Linked DNA regions of Homo sapiens: regions 1 and 2 are each linked to region 3. Evidence: promoter capture Hi-C in 16 types of primary human blood cells and fetal thymus (Javierre and others, 2016). All regions are on one chromosome and are shown on one strand. The core of a region is centred on a gene start or on the middle of the fragment in contact, and the rest is flanking DNA. Distances in the headings are between cores, read along the strand shown. Region 1 holds the start of MAK (male germ cell associated kinase). Region 2 overlaps TMEM14B-DT (TMEM14B divergent transcript). Region 3 holds the start of EEF1E1 (eukaryotic translation elongation factor 1 epsilon 1).

Evidence for each region. The method cuts DNA at HindIII sites, captures the fragments that hold promoters and counts their contacts. A CHiCAGO score of 5 or more calls a contact.
Region 1: a contact is called between the fragment with the promoter of MAK here and the fragment with the promoter of EEF1E1 in region 3, in 1 of 17 cell types (non-activated CD4 T cells). The highest score is 7.2, in non-activated CD4 T cells.
Region 2: a fragment that was not itself captured here is called in contact with the fragment with the promoter of EEF1E1 in region 3 in 1 of 17 cell types (naive CD8 T cells); the score reaches 6.6 in naive CD8 T cells.

What each region holds. Positions count from the first base shown.
Region 1 is chr6:10,835,893-10,840,309 of GRCh38, forward strand. MAK (male germ cell associated kinase) reads right to left here and starts at 2,647. Exons shown (of 15, transcript NM_001242957.3): 1 at 2,611-2,647. RefSeq lists a silencer at 2,710-2,839 and enhancers at 3,060-3,119, 3,170-3,329. The HindIII fragment of the contact is 3,144 bases long and covers 1,480-4,417 here.
Region 2 is chr6:10,741,401-10,745,509 of GRCh38, forward strand. It overlaps TMEM14B-DT (TMEM14B divergent transcript), which reads right to left. Exons shown (of 2, transcript NR_187231.1): 2 at 1,924-2,914. Among named protein-coding and RNA genes, the nearest start is that of TMEM14B-DT, 4.1 kb to the right of the region's middle. The HindIII fragment of the contact is 1,550 bases long and covers 1,892-3,441 here.
Region 3 is chr6:8,100,594-8,104,806 of GRCh38, forward strand. EEF1E1 (eukaryotic translation elongation factor 1 epsilon 1) reads right to left here and starts at 1,955. Exons shown (of 4, transcript NM_004280.5): 1 at 1,842-1,955. The coding sequence starts at 1,928. It overlaps EEF1E1-BLOC1S5 (EEF1E1-BLOC1S5 readthrough (NMD candidate)), which reads right to left and starts at 2,002. Exons shown (of 7, transcript NR_037618.1): 1 at 1,842-2,002. RefSeq lists silencers at 1,354-1,539, 1,748-1,867, 2,008-2,207. The HindIII fragment of the contact is 8,997 bases long and covers 1-4,213 here.

The sequences.
Region 1 (4,417 bases), core at 1,397-3,896, 2.7 Mb after region 3:
CCCATCACCACCGCCCTGGGGTGGGAGGGTGACCTGAAGCTGCACCAGCACTATCAGCACAATAGAGCATTCAGTCACTGATGACTTTCGACCCAAGCCTGCGTGCACAGTCTCTTTGCGAGTGGCTATTTTGGCAACTTCATTCCAAGCCTAACCAATCAACTTCTGAATAAACACCGGCAACACCAATTGTCTTTCAACGGATGATGGCTATAGGATAGGGTGTACTTATATTGAGGGAAGAATAAGCAAGGAACACGACCATTTCCCAGCTCCTTTCTGTTTGAGGGGTGGAGTGTTGAGGATTACGGACGTGACATAGATTTTTAAAAGGTCAGATTAGTGGTTCTGTGAGGATCTGTCCCATTTAAGCCCTACCTAACCTTTAAGTAAAACAACTTTACATACTGCGCTCCCTAAGAAAAAACTTTGGAAAGGCTTCTTTTGAACTACATTAATTACAAAATCAACAGCTGCCCAGGGTGAGACGCTGATCATTGCAACTGTTCCTTCTATCCCCTGAACATACAATTGTCTAATGTAGAGACATAGACATCAAGGTAAAGCTTTTAAAAAATCATTATTCCATGTCCCTGCTCCCTGATAGCACATAAGCAACTACTTTTATCAATGTGGCATAGCAACTACTGATTACTAATCAAAAAGCAGTCTATGTTCCTTAAACACAGGCTTCCCATGGTTCTCCAGTTCACGCACAATAATATTTCTCTACAAGTTACATATATTCTTCTCTGTTGACCTATGGAAAACTAATCTACAAAATAGGAATATATTAACACAGTTTCTTATGTACATGAATATATATAGATATGATACATATGCAACAAAAAACCCAAGTAAATATAACTATCATCCTCAATTTAACAGAATTGTTAAAAACTTGGAATTTTCTACAATCAAGCTATAACATTTATTGACCTTCCTATGGGTTAAAGAAAAAGATGCTTATTTAGAGGCTTAATTATAGACCTACACAAAAATAAATACCCTTATAATTTATCTCTCATTCTAGTTTTCAACTTTTTAATCTAAGTTCATAATTACCGTTTCTCTAAGTGCACAATTGTTGTAAATATAGCCTTTACTCTCAACAGCTTTTGCCAGCTAATAAGAGATTCAGATAGGATTAAAGAAGATTAGCAAAGAGGGCAAATGAAGGGTAAAACAAGCGTCTGCCAAAAACTGAAGAGATAAGGCTTGGATGTCTTCAACGTGGCTTTCTAGAACATATTATGTCACTCCGAGGCTGGCTTAACGCTTCTAATACACAACAAAAGAGTAATTAACGTTTTAAAAGTCACCAAACTCTTTAAAAAGCAACGCAGGAAAAAAAGATCCCAAACTAACCAAGTCGAAGTTTTACAGAAATTAAATGAGCTATTACAATGGGAAAACAAAGACTGTATCTTAAAATATAAAAGCACAGTTCTCTGTGCTCATATTCACAAATTATTTCAAAGCTTATACACAAAAAAAGTCCACCCCGACGAAGAGATTAAACGTCCTGCCCGGTGCCTGCAGTGGAAGCAGGCGGTGGCGCGGTTGGGGGAACTTTCTCCCTCCCGGTCAAGCCTCGGGAATTGAAGGGCCGGGGAGGCGGGGCCCGATCGAAAAGCTGGAAAGTCACTTTTGTTTTCACCATTATTTCACTTAATGGGTTGTGTTTCTGAATAAATAAAGTCAGATAACTTTGGCTTCCCTCTTTGAGAATTCCGTTATCATTAGAACAAATGTCTGTTTCTTTTAAACGATTATCTAACCACATTTGCATACAGCTCTTTCCTTGTAGGATTGAGATTACTAACCACTAAAAACCAGTTTTATTGCTCTCGACACCGCACTCTCGACCTGTCCCTAAATTAAAACGGATTACTTGCAGAAAAGGGACAGTTTTCGTCACACACTTTCTGATCCGACTCTGCAAACCAGGGCTCTTAAAAGGCTCCAGGGACCGCGTGGTGGAAGGAGGGGGCGTCCCCGGGCGCCGGGAGTCCGGCGCCGTTGGGGGGGACGGGGGTGTGCGGAATTCCACTTTCACCTGAGCGTCCTTTGGGATGCACCAGCGAGGGCTGGAGTCGGACCTAATTCCTGTTTTTCTCCCTCCTTTTAGATTTTGCAACAGTTCTGAACTCAGTTCCGCTGCCTCCCTGAGACCCAATCCTGCCTCTCTGTCCTAAAAACAGTTTCCACCGCCAGCCCAAGCAGCAGGGGAGCAGAGGTGGGAGATCCCGGAGGAGAGTTTAGGGGCGGGGGTCTCAGGCTAAGGGACGCCCGGCCGTCATCCTCCCACGCCAGGCCGGCCCCCGCGGTCCAGGAGGCGGGAAAGTGGTCAAGAGGTCTGGGAGACACCGACCGCCTTCCCTCGGGCTGACCACTCCCGCCCGCTCCGCCCCTCCGGGGACCCTCCTCCCTCCAGTCCTTCCCCTACCGGCGTCAGGGACCGGTCTCCGGGCGGAGATTGGCCCTGGTAGCACAGGGCGCCGAGGGGACATGCCCGGCCAGCCTCGCAGGTCGGGCTCCGGCTGGGTCGGACAGAGGGTGGTGGCCCTGCAGCCCGCTGGGGATTACCTGTCCGCGCCTGCTGCTTACCTCGTTCGCTCCCTTGTGAAGCTCCGGCGTCTTGTGTGTTTCATCTCCTAGGAAACGGCGGGGGCAGCAGGCGGGCCTACGGCCGGCCCAGAGAGGGCGTGGCCTCGCGGGAAATCCCCGCCAATTCCCGCAGGCCCCGCCTTCCCCGGGGCGGGGCTTCATGGAGCCGGGGGACTGTCGGCTGAGCTGCAGCAAGTGTGCCATTTAGACTTGGGGTTTAGGGGAGTTGATTACCTTTTCAGTCAGGTCTTTGTCAGAAGTTGGTTTGTTTGCCCTTTATTTTGTTTTGGTTTTGTTCCGATTCATTCTACAAAGTCTTGATTAATTAAAATATGGTTCCCAGACCGGGCAGAGCAAGAGAAGGAAGTCTGTTTGCCTCATACTTGCACTTGTTTACTTGTGCCTGGGGAAAAACTGTTCTTGTATGCAGTTCCTTAAATTGGTCAATTCCTTGGGTATGTATTACCTCTTGAGCTGCCCTTCTAAGTTTGTTTCCATTTATTCATTCAGAGAACCTGCCTAGTATCAGCCACAGAGTTAGATAGTGGTAATTCCAAGAAAAATGACTGAATGTGTGAATAAATGGGTAAATTGTAACTAGTCTAGAATTTAGAGAGGAAGGCACACTTGTGTTACTGCAAATAGTTCAGATTGGCTGGCAAAAAGGGTCTACGAAACAGAAACATAAGTGATGAAGCAGTGGTGCGGCAAGTTAGTAATTATTAGGTGTCAGGATGTGGGCTTGGGACCAAGAATAGCGCCAAGGTAGACACGACAGACATGCCTGTGGCCCTCACAGCTTAAAGTGAAGTAGGCTTTCACGCGTATGTTTATGGCAGCACAATTCACAATTGCAAAGATGTGGAACCAATCTAAGTGCCCATTGACTAATGAGTGGATAAAGAAAATGTGGTATATATACACCATAGGCTGCTACTCAGTCACAAAAAAAGAATGAAATAATGTCTTTTGCAACAACTTGGAAGAGTGGGAGGTCCTTATTCTACGCAAAGTAATACAGGCGTGGAAAACCAAAAACTGTATGTTCTCACTTATAAGCAAAAGCCAAGCTATGAGTATGCAAAGGCATACACAGTGAAATAATGGACTTTGGAGACTCAGAAAGGGGAGGATGGGAGAGAGCCTAGGGATAAAAAAAACTATGCACTAGGTACCATATACACTACTCAGATGATGGGTGCACTAAAATCTCAGAATTCACCACTATATAATTCATCTATGTAACAAAAAACCACTTGTACCCCAAGAGCTATTGAAATAAACATTTAAAAACAGACGGGGCTCAGTGGCTCATGCCTGTAATCCCAGCACTTTGGGAGGCCCAGGTGAGTGGCTCACCTGAGGTCAGGAGTTCAAGACCAGCCTGGCCAACATGGTGAAACCCCATCTCTACTAAAAATACAAAAAATATCTGGGTGTGGTGGCACATGCCTGTAATCCCAGCTACTCGGGAGGCTGAGGCAGGAGAATCACTTGAACCCAGGAGGCAGAGGTTGCAGTGAGCGGAGAACGTGCCACTGCACTCCAGCCTGGGTGACTGAGCAAGACTCTGTCTCAAAATAATAATAATAATAAATGGCCAGGCGCGGTGGCTCATGCCTGTAATCCCAGCACTTTGGGAGGCCGAGGTGGGCGGATCACCTGAGGTCGGGAGTTTGAGACCAGTCTGACCAACCTGGAGAAACCCCATCTCTACTAAAATGCTAAAACTACAAAAAATTAGCCAGGCGTGGTGGCGCATGCCTGTAATCCCAGCTACTTGGGAGGCTGAGGTAGGAGAATAGCT
Region 2 (4,109 bases), core at 1,417-3,916, 2.6 Mb after region 3:
TGCAGTGGGCCGAGATGATGCCACTGCACTCCAGCCTGGGCAAGAGTGAGACTCTGTCTCAAAAAAAAAAAAAAAAAAAGCGACTTGATGAAGCTTCCATGTTATTTAATTCTACTCAGTTCCTAGGGAATGCATATTACAGCAAAGTTGAGTATAATGCAGATATTCCTGAGAGGTGAAGCCGACTGGGCTTCTGGGTCGGGTGGGGACTTGGAGAACTTTTCTGTCTAGCTAAAGGATTATAAACACACTAATCAGCACTCTGTGTTTAGCTAAAGGTTTGCAAACGCACCAGTCAGCACTCTGTGTCTAGCTAATCAGGTGGGGACTTGGAGAACTTTTGTGTCTACCTAAAGGATTGTAAACGCACCAATCAGCACTCTGTAAAACGGACCAATCAGCACTCTGTAAAATGGACCAATCAGCAGGATGTGGGTGGGGCCAAATAAGGGGCCAAAAGCAGGCCACCCGAGCCAGCAGTGGCAACTCTCCTATCAGTCCTGTTCCATGCTGTTGCAGTTTTCTTCCTTTGCACTTTGCAATAAATCTTACTGCTGTTACTGCTGGTTACTGTTTGGGTCCTCACTGCCTTTATGAGCTGTAACACTCACTGTAAAAGTCTGCAGGTTCACTCCTGACACTAGCGTAAATGACAAGCCCATTGGGAGGAACGAACAACTCTGGAGGTGCCATCTTTAAGAGCTGTAACACTCATTGCAAAGGTCTGCAGCTTCACTCCTGAAGCCAGCAAGACCATGAGCCCACAGGGAGGAATGAACAACTGTGGACGTTCCGCCTTTATGAGCTATATAACACTGACTGCGAAAGTCTGCAGCTTCACTTCTGAAGCCAGCGGGACCATGAACCCACAGGGGAGGAATGAACAGCTCTGGATGCACCACCTTTAAGAGCTGTTAACAGTCAACGGCGAAGGTCTGTGGCTTCACTCCTGAGGCCTGTGCAGGTCACTGAACCCAGCGGAAAGAAGAAATTCCAGACACATCCAAACAGCTGAAGGAACAGACTGTGGACACACTATTTTTAAGAACTGTAAACACCGTGAGGGTCCGTGGCTTCATTCCTGAAGTCAGCGAGACCAAGAACCCACCGGAAGGAACCAATATTTGGACACATTCGTATCAGCTGTTTAAAATTCTTGGTGGGGGCCGGGAGCTGTGGCTTAACGCCTGTAATCCCAGTACTTTGGAAGGCTGAGGTAGGTGGATCACGAAGTCAGGAGTTTGAGAACAGCCTGGGCAATATGCTGAAACACCTGTCTCTAGTAAAAATAAGAAAATTAGTAGGGCATGGTGGCATGTGCCTGTAATCCCAGCTACTTGGGAGGCTGAAGCAGGAGAATCGCTCAACCCGGGAGGCAGAGGTTTCCGTGAGCTAAGATCGCGCCACTGCACTCCAGCGTGGGTGACAGAGCAACACTCAGTCTCAAAACAGAATTCTTCATGGGACATTTAACTGAAAGGCTTAAACTGGCTTAAGTCTATTTTAAGACACGGGGTCTCTGTCACCTTTTGCAGTGGCATGATTATAGCTTCCTGCAGCTTTGAACTCCTGGGCTCAAGCAATCCTCCTGCCTCAGCCTCCTGAGTAGCTGTGACTACAGGCATCCACCATCACACCCAGCTAATCTTATTTTTTTTGTAGAGACTGGGTTTCATCATGTTGGTCAGGCTGGTTTCGAACTCCTGACCTCAAGTGATCTGCTTGCCTTGGCCTCCCAAAATATTGGGATTACAGACATGAGCCACTGCGCCCAGCCAGAGGGTGTTTTTTTAATGTGGCATTTGAAAATAAAAAGTTGGAATATACATTTGTTTTTGGGAGTATTCAATACTTTTAAGGAAGATTAATATGTTTGTGAAATACAGGGGAAAGCTTTTAGTACAAGTTAAGTATAGATAAATCTTAGTTTTTAAAACATAGGCAGATTTTATTAGATGTGTTAAGTAGTAAGTAGAACATGTGTTAGACACAGAAAGGAATAGAAAGTCCAGGATACCTAACATTCCTAGCTACCAAGTATACATGAGACACCTGAGCATGAAATATTTGATACATTAAATGTCCAAGAGGCACTAAATACAGTGCATAAAATATACATAAGCATGAAATAGTCATGCTATTCACTTCTGTCCCCAAGTGTCCTCTGTCCAAGAAACACAGTAAAACCCATGGTTGCTCCACAGGCCAACAGGCAAAGCTCAGCTCTTTGCTAGGCTTGCTTGTACCTGCATCTCGGACAGAGCAAGTTTGTGTCATTGGCGTGGGGCACCTTGCCTCTTTGAGTCTCCTTGCTCAAACCTGTCGTCTTCAGCACCACGATCCACAGGAAAGTCAATATCACAGAGAGGGGTGGAGGTTGGGGCAGGTGGGGGATGGTGGCCCCTGAACATTGTATGAGGTAGGCTTTAGGTAGCAGGCATCTTCCACCAGATTTGCACCGTCTCTTGACAGCGTTTACTTATCCCATCTCTTTCCTCTTGCTTTTCACTGTCTCTTTAAATTGATTTAAATAAACTAAGAGATTCAAGCATTTTAATTTGATCTGTGAGCTTTTCTGCTCACTGATCTCTGAGGTAGTATACCTGGAGGCCATCGCATTTCCCACATGATAACAATTCATATCAAAATACGGAATCCATTTGGGGAAGTCAGGTAGATTGCTTCCCTTTTCTTCCTGAGAATGGATAGTCTGCATATAGTCTTAGCCGTCCATGTGTTGAATGATCAACTTTTCTATTTATGTAGAACAGGTTTTAATCACACATACACTCCTTCCTGATACAATTCCCCATGTGTAAGCATCCATCTCCACCTTCCTTGCTCCATTGTTTATCCGACAGCCATGAAGTGAGTGCTCACCATGTGTGCCAGGTGCTATCCTAGATTCTGAGGGCTAAAAGGAAAAACACAACCCTTCTGAAAGACACAGCTTTGGTAAATAAATTAACATATTGAATGCAATGGCCTGGGGCAGTCATGGGCAGCTTGACTGATTAGTGAAATGTTGAGTTTTTGAATGACACAGGGCCCATGATGTCAACTCAATTTTTCATTTTTCTTTTCTTTTTTTTGGAAATGGAGTCTCCCTCTGTCACCCAGGCTGGAGTGCAGTAGAGTGATCTCGGCTTACTACAACCTCTGCCTCCTAGGTTCAAGCGATTCTTCCATCTCAGCCTCCTGAGTAGCTGGGATTACAGGCGTGCACCATCACACCCGGCTATTTTTTTTTTTTTGTATTGTTAGTAGAGACAGCGTTTCACCATGTTGGCCAGGCTAGTCTCGAACTCCTGACCTCAGGTGATCCATGTGCCTCAGCCTCCCAAAGTGATGGGATTACAGGCGTGAGCCACCGCTCACAGCCTATTTCAGATTTTAAAAGACTCTTCACTGCAAGAAACAAATGCAACTCTGGATGTCCTAAGCTTCAACAGAGGACGTGGGGGTAAGTACATGAGAAGGACACAGGTGTATCTGGCTGAGGCCAAGGCAGGAAGAACCAGAGCCAGGGTACAGCCAGGGCAAACTGTACATGTGGCCTTTGTTCTCCTGTCTGCCGACCACCCCTCTCATTTCTCACTCCACATCTACTTGTCCATTCAACACATGTTTACTGAGTACTGGTTATGGGCCAGGCACTGTGCTAAATGCTGCATAAATATCATCACTCCCATGAAACAAACATGCAAAAAAGGGGGAGGTAGGCTCTACGATGATTAAGCCAGTTACAGAGCAGGTTAGCAGGGAATTGTCATGGAAGGAAAGATGCTGTCGGGGGAAATGCAGATGAGTTGAAGTTTTAAATCAGGTGATTAGGGAAGGTCTCTCTGAGAAGTGACATTTGCGTAAAGACAGAAAGGAGGAGAGGGCGTGAACCAGGAGATTGTCTGGGGAGGCGTTCCAGGCAGATGAAGCAGCTGAGGGCAAGAAGGAAACACAAGTGAGGGGGAAAGAGAAGATGCTGATGTCAGGGAGGAGGATGTGTGGGGCTTTGCAAAGCACTGCCTGAGAAAAGGGGTGCCACCAGAGGGTTTTGGGGAGAGAAATGGCACAGTCAGACTTCTAACCCAAGTGCTCTGGTCACTGTGTTG
Region 3 (4,213 bases), core at 705-3,204:
CTTGGTGTTATCAGTACTGCACAAACCCCTCTTCAGCACACAACTGAAGTACTATTCCGTAAAATCCCCAGCCAGCCTTTGTTTCCTTGCAGTTAGCTCCTCTCTTACTAACTTGCCTGTTGCACTCTTGCAACATATTTTCATACTTTCTCTAATAAATCTGCTTTTCTTTACGTACAGCTGTCCTGGTAAATTCTTACCCTGGCGCCACCAGCCCCAGAGAGTTGCTGCTCACCCACGACAGTCCATGAAGTGCTTACTATGTTGTGCTTTAAATTATTTGCTGATGATTGTTTCTCATACTAGATAATACTCATATCTTGGCAATGGTCCCTAAAAAATATAAACTAGGCCAGGCACAGTGGTTCACGCCTGTAATCCCAGCACTTTAGGAGGCCAGGGCATGTGGATCACCTGAGGTCACCAGTTCAAGACCAGCCTGGCCAACATGGTGCAACCCGGTCTCTACTAAAAATACAAAAATTAGCTGAGCGTGGTGGCGAACACCTGTAACCCCAGCTACTTGGGAGGCTGAAGCAGAAGAATCGCTTGAACCCGGGAGGCAGAGGTTGCAGTGATCCGAGATCATGCCATGGCACTACAGCCTGGGCGACACAGTGAGACTTTGTCTCAAAAAAAAAAAAAAAAAAATATATATATATATATATATATATATATATATATATATATGGCACTCTTCCAATTTAAACGGTTGCAATGTTTGTCCACTCGGCCATATATATTATATTTATACTACATATATATTATATAATATATACACTAAGCTAGGGAGTAGGGGCCGAAGGGACGGAATTATCACTGGGGCAGAGGAAACACCAAAAGAAGGCCACTTTGGCTCCAACGCCTACTCTGCCACCAATCACAGGGCTGATCTTAGGCTGAACACTTAACCTTTCTAGGCTTCAGGTTAACTTAAATAAAAACTATACTACTACTTTCTAGACAAGATCTTCACATGGACCAAATGAAGAAGAGAAAAAATTAAAGACAAAAACCAAACATCATTTGGAAAAAATCTCAAAGGAGCAAAAAAAACATATATCCAAAGTAGTCTTCCTACAACCAATTTCCTTCTCTAATACATTCCTTCTACGACAAACAACTATAAAACACAAACGTTCTAACAGTGCCTAACCAGGCAATCTCATACCTTGTGATGTTTCCCGCATTCACTGTGGGTCGTAACACTTAAACTGATAATCCAAGGCTTTAGAAACGCCTTCCCCGAATCCCCTAGATTGGGCCAAGACTCCTTAGGTGTTCTCTCTGCCATTTATGGTGCAACGTGGCACTCTTCCAATTTAAATGGTTGCAATGTTTGTCCACCTGGCCAAAAAGCAAGCTGCCTGAGAGGAGGAAGCATGTTCCCCTAAATCATCATTGTATTCCCCAGACCCAGCACGGTGCTACCTGGCACCCTGTTAGCTATAACGGAGTCGCTGCGCAATAACTGAATGAAAGGTGCGATTACGGGAAAAAAAAAAAAGCCAGTTACTGAATACATTCCAGGTTGGTCTAAGAGCCCTGTGAGGACCCTCCTCCAACTGGTTTTGTTTCCTCATAATGGGATGATGACAATTTCCCAGGAGGTGAAGTTCAGGCCAAGCCCAACCTGAGCTGGTTAACCCCTCCCTCCAGGAGGTAGGATGGCAGGGGCCGAGGCCCAGAGGCGCCAGCCGGCTAGCGGCGCAGACACGTGGGGAGCTGGGTAGCAGCATCCTCACTCCGCCCGTATCTGGTGGCCGGCCCGGGTCCTGCCAGGGCTCGGCAGGCCCCGCTCCCGTCCACCTCTTCCCCTCCGCGCCGCCTCTCCTTCTCACCTGTCGCTCGCCCTGAGCACTGTATTTATTCCCCTTACTCAGTCCCAGGGACTTCTCCAGTAGCGACAACTCTGCGGCCGCCGCCATCTTCCGGCCGTAGCTCCTGGCAGACGCGAGACCTGCAGAACAAGAACCTCCCGCATTGGTGGAAACAGAAGTCCCACTCCTGCAAACTTCAGCGGCGATTGGCTGAACGGAAGGGGCGTGGAGAGCGCGCGCCAAAGCACAGGAGGCGGGGCCGGTGGAAGGGGCGGGGCTGAGGGCGGGGTGTGAGACAGGTGGAGAAGTGATGGTAAATTTCCACTCGAACTGTTGGGGAGCTAGTTACTGGTAGAAAGGCCCCAAGGCCGGGCTTCGGTGGCTGCAGTAGACTGGATCTGGATCTCTAAATGGCAATCTATTGACATGGCTGCCAGCGGTAACTCGTTAACTCATTTGCTAGTCTAAGAGAATTTATATATGATGGGAACTGAAATTTGCCTTAGTTTGGTTCAGGAATCTGTAAATTTGAACAATCAAATTGAATAGCAAAAAGTTCACAGTCCATTAGGAGTTTCTAACGTGTAGCATAATTCATGAGGATTTTAATTGTGTTGTAGTGGTGAATTCGAAAAACTGGTTTTTCTACTGTTGATCTACAGCTCAACACTAGCAGTAGAATTATACATTTAAAGATTATTCACAGAACACGGAGTATGTCAGATAGGGGTCAAATAATTACAGCTCAAGGAAATAAGCCATTAATGGCATTAATGATCTTTTTTTGCAGTACCAGAAGGCTGGTTACATAATTTATGAAGTTTTGGTATATAAATAAACAAGGTGCATAACTTTGCCCCACTAACTTGCTACATTCTTGTATCTTCAAAAAAGAAAGAAAGGAAGAAAGAAAGAAAATTAGTAGTATATGTTGAATATTTCCAAAAGATTTGTGAAAATACAAAATATTTTCCACTTTGAAGAATGAATAAACAAAGTGTGTATTAGTCTGAGAGAAATAGAACAATCCTACAAGGTAACTCATCATTGAATCAGAAATATCAAAGTTTAGTGGGGAATGTTGTTACTGTGTTACACCTTCCCTATCCCAGAATACTTAATGAGTTTACTCTGTCAGCAGAAGTAAACATAAGGAAAAGAAACTTTTGCCAAATCAACATAACAAAATACAAAAGAAATTTCAGTATAAGTGGATTGTTAGGCACTAAATTATCTGTTTTACTTTCCATATTCAGATAATGGAATGACTATTCTACTACTTTTTAAAAGACCAACCCTCTAAGATAATTCACATATCCATTTTCAGGGTTTAGGTACACTTTTTGCTTGTAATAAAACATTTTTTAAAAAAATTAACATTTATCCAATGCCAATGGGTGGTATATTGAAAATAAGGTTTGGCCTTTGCATAATTATAGAAATATCAAATTAAAAAAGAAATCCCTAAAAAACTGAAAGCAGAACAAAGCATATTGTACATCAAATTGATGACATCATCACCCAGTGTGGACCTCTTTTAAGTGACTTTATAGCACAGTCATTTAATTGTATACTCTTAGTAAGATATGCTTTAAGGACAAAATTCATGAAAACCTGTTTTTGGTTCTTTTTGTTTGTTGGTTTGGTTAGCATCTTGGCAGTGTCAGCATTGGTATGGTGCTGTATATGTACTGTGGAATAAAGCAAAGATGCAATCATGTGGTGTTGCTGGAAAGTTGGGTGTTTGGTGTTGCCCAAAAGAGGAGTTGTAAGGTAGATGAGGTTAAATCAAAACTTTCTGGTCCTGAATTTGAATTGTAATATCAATATGAACTTATGACGCTTTTATCTTAAGGAAAATGAAAAGTATTTCCTACCTAGCTCTGTTTACTTAAAAGGCCTAGAAACAAGGACAACTCAGTAGCAATGAGCACCCCAGCACCCAGATTCTGGTTTCAAATACTATTTCCCACAAAAAGAAATGGGGGCTCTTTGGAGACCGGCTGAATCCAAACCTTGCGGGGAGATCAGTCTGGACCATCTAGTTATAGTAGAAAGAAAAGAAAGTATCTAAGAGTAATGAGGGGAGTCAAAGGGTAGGATCAGATCACTTGAGGGTCAATAATAGTCATTACAAGCTGAGAGTCGATAAGAATAATTGCAATGAATTGAAACATGTTGAATATGTTTAAGTCTATGAGTTCATAATGATACTAAAAAAAAAACAAGAACAAAATCAAAATAACCCTCATTCGTTACCTTTGGAGGATACTAGAGATCCAATTCATTATTTTGAAAAAGGATAAAGAAAACACATGAAGAAACCAATATATTTTTTCATGATTATCCTATGTAAACTGTATCTCAGGGAAACTAAACTCTAATGAGGAAAA